Regions from separate parts of the Homo sapiens genome. Here regions 2 and 3 are each linked to region 1. Evidence: promoter capture Hi-C in human tissues and cell types (Jung and others, 2019). All regions are on one chromosome and are shown on one strand. The core of a region is centred on a gene start or on the middle of the fragment in contact, and the rest is flanking DNA. Distances in the headings are between cores, read along the strand shown.

Evidence for each region. The method cuts DNA at HindIII sites, captures the fragments that hold promoters and counts their contacts. A contact is called where the count stands out against the background at its distance.
Region 2: a fragment that was not itself captured here is called in contact with the fragment with the promoter of DCT in region 1 in 2 of the 25 tissues and cell types used here (dorsolateral prefrontal cortex and thymus).
Region 3: a fragment that was not itself captured here is called in contact with the fragment with the promoter of DCT in region 1 in 3 of the 25 tissues and cell types used here (dorsolateral prefrontal cortex, small bowel and spleen).

Annotation. Positions count from the first base shown.
Region 1 is chr13:94,478,256-94,480,959 of GRCh38, forward strand. DCT (dopachrome tautomerase) reads right to left here and starts at 1,427. Exons shown (of 8, transcript NM_001922.5): 1 at 706-1,427. The coding sequence starts at 1,000. The HindIII fragment of the contact is 3,749 bases long and covers 500-2,704 here.
Region 2 is chr13:94,444,655-94,447,354 of GRCh38, forward strand. The region is part of intron 6 of DCT (dopachrome tautomerase); the gene reads right to left. Among named protein-coding and RNA genes, the nearest start is that of DCT, 34 kb to the right of the region's middle. The HindIII fragment of the contact is 3,651 bases long and covers 1-2,700 here.
Region 3 is chr13:94,426,945-94,429,644 of GRCh38, forward strand. No RefSeq gene overlaps it. Among named protein-coding and RNA genes, the nearest start is that of DCT, 51 kb to the right of the region's middle. The HindIII fragment of the contact is 6,484 bases long and covers 1-2,700 here.

The DNA of each region.
Region 1 (2,704 bases), core at 177-2,676:
GCACCCTGCTGAGGTCAGGAGTTCGGGACCAGCTTGGCCAACATGGTGAAACCCCGTCTCGAAATACAAAAATTAGCCAGGCATGATGGCGGGTGCCTGTAATCCCAGCTACTTGGGAGGCTGAGGCAGGAGAATCACTTGAACCCGGGAGATGGAGGTTGCAGTGAGCTGAGATAGCACCATTGCACTCCAGCCACGGTGACAAAGCGAGACTCCATCTCCAAAAAAAAGAGAGAGAGAGAGATCTGTTCAAATCATGAGAAATGCTGAGACCAGAACACCTGCCTTTGACTCCTGTCTTCCGAATGCCAAGCTTCACCCATCCCTTTTCAACAAGTGCAAACCCATTTCAGGAGAGGGCACCGAATCCATCTTGAAAGGACTTGCTCCGAGTTTCAAAGCTGACGCTTTTAAGCTCTTAAATTCCCCTTCCAACAAACAAGCCAATAGTATGTTGGCATGCATTCATATAAGCAGGCTTGGCCCACGCCATATTTATTTAGTCTTCATAACTAGATGTACTAGAGGGTGTGAAGAATAAACCAGCACATCAGCCTTATTGAATATGCTTCCGACCAAAACCATCATTGGTTTGCCTTTCAAAGCCTAATCTAAGAGTCTCTGTCAAGAGTCTCATCTCTTCCTTAGAAGGAGCTCTTTCCCCAGCTCTGGCCCTCCCCACCAAGCTTGGAGCATGGGCCTCACCTGTGCACTTGCAGGTCCGGTGGAAGAATTTTCTTGGCCACAGCTCACGGTCATCCTGGTTTCGTAGGATGTAGGGACCACTCCAGGGCCTTGTGTCGGCTCGCACCTCTGTGCACTGCCCCCGGCCTTGCTGAGAGCCACAGACATTGGCCGACTCTGCACCCAGGCGTGGGCAGCACTCCTTGTTCACTAGGCTGTCCACCGTCATGCAGACTCGGGGGAACTGACCCTGGGCTCCTGGCAGGATTTTGCAGCCCAAGCAACTGAGCAGAAACCCCCACCAAAGGGGGCTCATGGCTTTATAATTGGGAGAGCTCTCTCTCTCTCTTACTTTCCTTGTCTCTGTCGTACTTTTCTCCTTATCTTCTACTCTTTCAGTCTTTTCTTTTCAGTATTTTTTATTTTTCTTTGCTTTCTATTCCTTTCTTCTTAAAAAAATACCCACAAGAATCACAGAGGTTACATGTGTGCACATGTGTACATGAACGTGCACACACAATTTTATGTGATTCAAACAACTAACAGACTTAATTTCCTTAGAAGCGCCTCTAACAACCAAATTTAATGAGGGTAGCGCTTCTCACCATCTTCCCCCGTTAAGTCAGGCTTTGTCTAATTGAGTTAATTTACAGAGCACCCAGTCATACTACTTATTATGCTGGTATTTCTAAACCCTCTCCCTCCCTCCTTAGCTCTTGACTTTAATTGCCTTGAACTCAGTTCAAAAGCCAAACACCGTGCTGCTTTTATTCTCTCTGGCTTGCCAAGCCACGGGGCCTTGGGGGCTTGTGTAAGGGCTGGGAGAAGCCTTCATTAGGGGGATTAGTATTACAGAAACCCTCATCATTAGCACATGACCCAAAGTGCACAATAAAGGAGATCACTTCTGGCTTTATTTCAGGAGGGCAAAACCATCTTCTTTATCTGGGCTCATGTGCTCCAGCCAAACTTGTGACCTCAGACATCCTGGGGAGTCAGTAGATGCAGTGAGCTCTTCGTCAAAGACCCTTTACACAGAAGCTCACATTGCCAACTACAATGCACTCATGGCTGCTTTCTGACATGTGTGCAAAAAAGACCACAACAGGGGGTCATGCAACTTCAAAAATAAAGAAACATTTATGTAGAACCAGGGTACAAGGAATTGCTTTGTTCCACAATTGGGAATCCTCTTCCCTCCAAATAATAACTTACTCTTCTCCTATTCAGCACATCTACGCAGCAATTTTTTTTTAATTACATGAAGTAGCATGCCACCAGAAACTCACAATTGTCATTATCTGATTGTATGGAAGGCACTGGAACCATTTGGAATGAAGGCTTGCAAGCAAATCTTTTTGATTAGACTAAAGTGAAGCATGACTGAGCTTCAGTCTAGAAAGCAATGCCTCCTGGTGCTTCTGGAGAATGGTCAGGTCAGCAATGGTGGCCACCTGTCAGAACATCCATTTATTTTTTCACAGTGGAAACAGGACTGTCTTGGTAACTGTTTCACAGTGGAAACAGGACTTAGTGCCACAAGGATGCGAAACGGCTTCAGCTAGTTTCTAAGAATATACTTGAATGTAAAGACACATATTGTTATGTTTCAAAGCAAATTCCTAAGGTGAAACAATTATATAGGTATTCCCACCCCCTGTACCTCTGTGCCACCCCTTGATGTTAAGTTGTTGTGACTAATTAAATGGCAATTCTTATGTCTGACTCTACACCAATATCAGCCTGTACCACAGCCCTACTGAATCAGAATCTCTGAGGATGTTCCAGACACCAACCAACCTTTGTTAGAAAACATCTAGGCAATTCTAATGCTCAGCCAGAGTTGAGAATCACTGAATCAGAATACAGCAGAGCTCCAAAGGAAATATTGCATCAGCATCAGCTAAAAGAGACCATGTGCAATAGTTTCCTGAGGCTTCTGTAACAAATGACCACAAACTGGATGACTGAAAACAACAGAAATCTATTTTCTCACTGTTCTGAAGGCCAGAAGTCTAAA
Region 2 (2,700 bases), core at 94-2,593, 34 kb before region 1:
GAGCTCAGGGGCAGTGTCCTTTTTTCATTCCCCCTGGATCCCCAGAGCTTGTCACCCCAGGGTGTCTCATATGGAGAAAGGGAGGTACTTATTTCAGTAAATACTTATTCAGTGTATTCATTCCTCCATTCACCACTGTACCTTGTACCTCATTTATAGCACTGATCAAATGATACTATAACTTGTTATTTATGTATCTATGTCCCCTAACAAGATCCTAACTCCTTAAGGTCTAAGATAAGGACTTTTCACCTTTGAAGTCTCAGGTTTAGTATACAACCTGGACAGAGTCAATGTTTACTAACTATGTGTTTGCTGATGACAGTGTCATGCAGACACTTTGCATACAGTGCAAAGCTTAGCATACAACCTGGACAGAGTCAATATTTACTAAGTATGTGTTGGCTGATGACAGTGTCATGCATCTTTATTTACATAAACAGTTTGTGCAAATAAACAGTGTCTAGGGATATACAAAAATATATTTTCCAAAGAAGGCCACACAATGTTTGTTTCTTGACTAACATGCTTTTCTAGAATCTTGCCACTCCCTCATTGAAGGTTGGCTTCATCTGGCCTTCCCTTGAAACTTGGTGAGTTTCTGACTCTTTTATAACCAATAAAATGCAACAGAAGTGACATTTTGTGACTTTCAAGGTTAAATCATAAAGTGTATTGCAGTTCCTATCTTGTGCCTGAGCCCTGAACCATCAAATAAGCAGTCCAGCTGTCCTGAGGCAGCCATGCTGTGAAGAAGCCCAAACCAACTCATATAGAGTGACCATGATGGCGAGGCTCAAGATTTCAGGAAGAAAAACAGATAGCGGGCCAGTCCACAGCTGTTCCAACACCTATCACCATCTGACTGCAGCTGCACTGAAAGATGCTAGGCTAGAACTGCCTAGTCAAGCCCTTCCAAAATTCCTGACCCACAGAAATGGTAAGAAATGAAATGGTCACCTTCAAGCCACTGAGTGTTTGGGTAATCGTAATCTGTTATGCAGAAATGGATAAACACAACAAAGGAAAAAAACCTGAGTAGAGCCTCCCAGGCTCATGGTTACCAGCACATGCAGGGAAGGGAGTTCCTTGGTCGCTTTCTCTTTTCTGTTGAGACACAAAATTTAATAGAAATTTTGTTTGTAGTTCTTACATTCTCAGTGTGAGCTGAATTGGGACCCGCTGCCCCATGCAGAAGTGGCCCATTCCTGGAGGCAGGGGAGAAACTGTGGGGGGGCGGGGTGAAATGGGAAGAGCCCCATTCTTCCTCAGTGTTGGGGGGCTAGAGATGCCACCCCCTTTTCCTGGCCCCCTCTGGGTTCCAGGAAGGAGAACAGATGGAATGTCAGGCCTGAGACTTCTCCTCCACACTGCTGCCCCCTGGGTGGGAGGGTAGCTAAGAGATCCAGACAGAGAATGAGAAGGCAGAGGTGGTGAAACGGGGATAGTGACGCAGCTTGAGATGAATAAAACACAGCCTGTGGAGCTGATGATCCAGGATCACAGAGGTCTGTAAACCTCAACAGTGGACACCAATAACATGGCACTGAGAAGGTAGGGAAGATAATATATATTAGGTACCTAGTACACAGCACCTTTCTTGTAGGAAATGGTTATTCAATGGTTGTTATCACTATGACTATACCATCAGTACTATTATTATTTTAACTTGGGACAAGGACTTATGGAAGAAGAATGATGGAATTCGCATTTTGCAGGTGGGTGGGGCCTGCAAGCACCTCTGAAATCACACACACTGTACATATAGCCAATGAGGAGCTGGGCATTTAGGAATGCATGTGGCACATGCCTAGCACTTTTTGATAAGTAAATTAGTGAGTATTTATTAGTGTTTGCTCAATTACCCAAAATGACATATTGAATCCTCAAAGCAGCCTGATTTGGTGGATATTATTTGTTTGCTCAGGCTGCTGTAACAAAGTACTACAGACTGGGTGGCTTAGACAACAGGCATTTGTCTTACGGTTGGAGACAGTGTCTCGCTTCTAGGCAGCTGGAAGTCCAACACCAAGATGTCAGTGGGGCTGGTTCCTTCTAAGCACTGTGAGGGAAAATCTGTTCCAGACCTCACTCCTACCTTCTCGGGCCTTGCTGACAATCTTTGGCATTCCTTGCCTTGTAGATCTCTATCTTCATCCTCATGCAGTGTTCTCCCTGTGTGCAGGTGCCTATGTCCAAATTTTCCCTTTTTATAGGGACACCACTCACACTAGATTAGGGACCTACTCTACTCCAGTATGACATTTTATGTTAATAAACTATATCTGCAGCTATCCTATTTCCAAACAAGGTGACATTCTGAGTTATTAGCTATTAGGACTTTGACATATGAATTTTGTGGGGGACAATTCAACCCATAACATTATTACCCTGTTTTACAGATGGGGAATAAAAGGCACAAAAGTGTTAAGTGACTTGCCTAAGGTCACACAGCTAATATATGGTAGAGTAAGAATTTGAACCCAGGAAGTCTGGTTCTAAAGTGAGAGTTCCTAATCCACATACTCTACTTCCTCTACACCACCGGTCCCCAACCTTTTTGGCACCAGGGACTGGTTTTCGAGGAAGACAATTTTCACGGACCAGGGGGTGGTGGATGGGAAGGGAGATGGTTTCAGGATGAAATTGTTCCACCTTGGATTATCAGACATTAGTTAGATTCTCATAAGGAGTGTGCAA
Region 3 (2,700 bases), core at 19-2,518, 51 kb before region 1:
CGAGGCGAGTGGATCACTTGAGGTCAGGAGTTCAAGACCAGCCTGTCCAACATGATGAAACCCCATCTGTACTAAAAACACAAAAATTAGCCAGCTGTAGTGGTAGGTGCTTGTAGTTGTAGCTACTTGGGAGACTGAGGCAGGAGAATCACTTGAACCCAGGAAGCAGAGGCTGCAGTGAGCCAAGATCATGCCACTGCATGCCAGCCTGGGCAACGGAGTGAGATTCTGTCTCAAAAAAAAAAAAAAAAAATCCTGTTTTGCCTCTCTTGGAAATAAGAACAGGCAATGCCATTGACCCATAAAAGAAGTATAATCAAGCATTTTGAGTTCTAAGATTTGTAAAAGAAAAAGCTCCTGGGCCCAAAGAGAAAACACACCCCTTTTTCTGCAGGAAAGGGATCAGTTTGTTCAGGAACAAGAGGTGCCAAACCCTGGGATAACTGGTACCCTGGGAAAGGCCTGAATGTGGCACTGAGAGAGTTGAACTCAACAGCTGCCAGCAGAGGAGGCCACACCTTGCACACTGGGAAAGTCCAGCACCCCTGAGAAGGCAGCGGTAGACAAATGAGCGAACAGTGCATGATCCTTGCAGTATAGAGTGGATCAGCGTCACCTGCTGAACTGTTTACAGCCAGATTTCAAAATCCACACCATGGGCTAATGAGAAATAACAGCAAGAGGAGATTAATAAATCACCAGTGCTTCCTTCGTAGGGGTGGAAATCAGACTGAGGACTACATAAGCCTCAGGCAACTTTGAGTAATTCAACAGGGGAAAGCTCAGAAAGATATTCTAGATTTCCCACTAATATAGCAAGCTGGTCACATAGCAATTAACTGGAAAAAAAGAGATGTAATCATATCTGGACTCCAAGGTTACTATCTCAGTCATGCCTGTTACTTTTTGGGGGAAAAAAAAGCCTTTTTAATCAGGGTTAGGAATACGATTTTCATTTGTTAAGTATTGAATTTGTAACAGTGATGAGGGGTAAAAGAGCAAAATTTTATCTGCCTTTGTTTCTTTAAATTTTGTTCAGGAAGTGTATAATCTCCAGTGGGGGCAGGGGAGATGTATAATGCCTTATTTCCTTCGTTTAAATAAATAGACATTATTTTTATGTTTTAGGGCCTAATAAAAAAAATAGTTCAGATTAGGATTGCAGGTTAAAATTAGCCTTGGCCAAATAGCACGTATCTGAGAGCAGCGGATTCTAATTTTAATCACAGGGAATAGCCAAAGAAGCTGGAAATAAAAATTCAACAATAAATATGTATTTCCAGAGAGTTTAAAATATTTACAAAAATTCCTAATTACACCTCACCATTTTGATGTAATTTCTGAGGATATATTTTTAGGACTTTGCATTTCTTTCTATTCTTTCTCTTCACAATTAAATCCATAGATATCCACCTTGCATTCCAATGAAGTTAAATCTACCCCCACTTGGTTTCCATCTTTGTCTCACGTGTGTTATTTGTGAAATTTATCACTAGTATTAATCCTTCTCTCTCTTTTTTTTTTTTTTTTGCTTCATTTGGCATTCGCTTTTCTAAAATATTAAGGGGTAAACATTAAATTAAATATTCAAATAGGTGCACAAATACTGCAGGAGAGAAAAACCTAACAATTCTGTTGAAACTGAGCTGTTACCTGACAGGTGACACACAGCACAACATAGCTCACAATTTTTTTTGGTTCAACGATATAAGCAAATCCAATGTGCAATTTGTAAGGCAGGCCTAAAGTGTCAGTGCATAATTTCTGGAAGAATATGTTATAGTACAACAGTCAAATGTGTGAAAGACAACAAAATATACAAAGACAAATAAATGACCTCTGGAAGGTTAAAATTCTAAGTCAAAGCCTCCAAGGATTTGGACACATGCTGAGCAGAGAGAAGACTCTTCATTTCTCTTGACTGTTTTGTAAGGCAGTAAATAGCTCAAGCTCCAGACTGAGCAGTGAGGAGCTAATCAGCTCTTTTCCTCCCAATCACCCAAACCCCTCTGCCTCTCTCCCACCCCAAAGCTAAGCCCAGCAGGCAAACCAAGAAAACAGGAGGCTGTGATTATCCAAAGTATGCCTGTAGTAAGTCCAACCTGAGCCCGCCATTAAAGCTGTTCATCTCTTAGAAAGAATTGGAAACTGGGAACATTTTCTCTGGTTTCACTAGCAGAAAAAATGCAATCGGTAATGAAGCAGAAGCACCATGTCAACTGCTTAAAGTTCACTCACATTTAACATTTCACACACCATTTACATTCCAGTTCTCTCTCCACCAAGTGGAAAAGGCAATGGTGCCCTTTGGGGCTTAGCAGGATGGTTGGATCTCCTTGAAGTGCTTCCCTCTCTGTCACTCTTCCTTTTCTTCATTTCTCACTCAGTGGTGAGAGATCTTGATGCCAACTGGAACCACCTGTACCTCAGTGACCCACCTGAGCACCAAAAAATCACACAGGTTCTTCTGCCATGAGTGAAAGAGCAATGAGCTTACAGAGCTAAGTCCCACTTAGCTTTTCAAATATCTTTATGTACTCTGAAGAGCCTATATTTGAGTTCTGAAGCCAGGATTTCTTGTCTTGATCCATGAAATCTAACCTGCTGCACTAGATTTACCTAAAAGGTATTCCAAAAAGATTTTACGAATAATAGCAACATTTATAAAAGAAGAAATGCAAGTAGCCAACAAGCCAACAA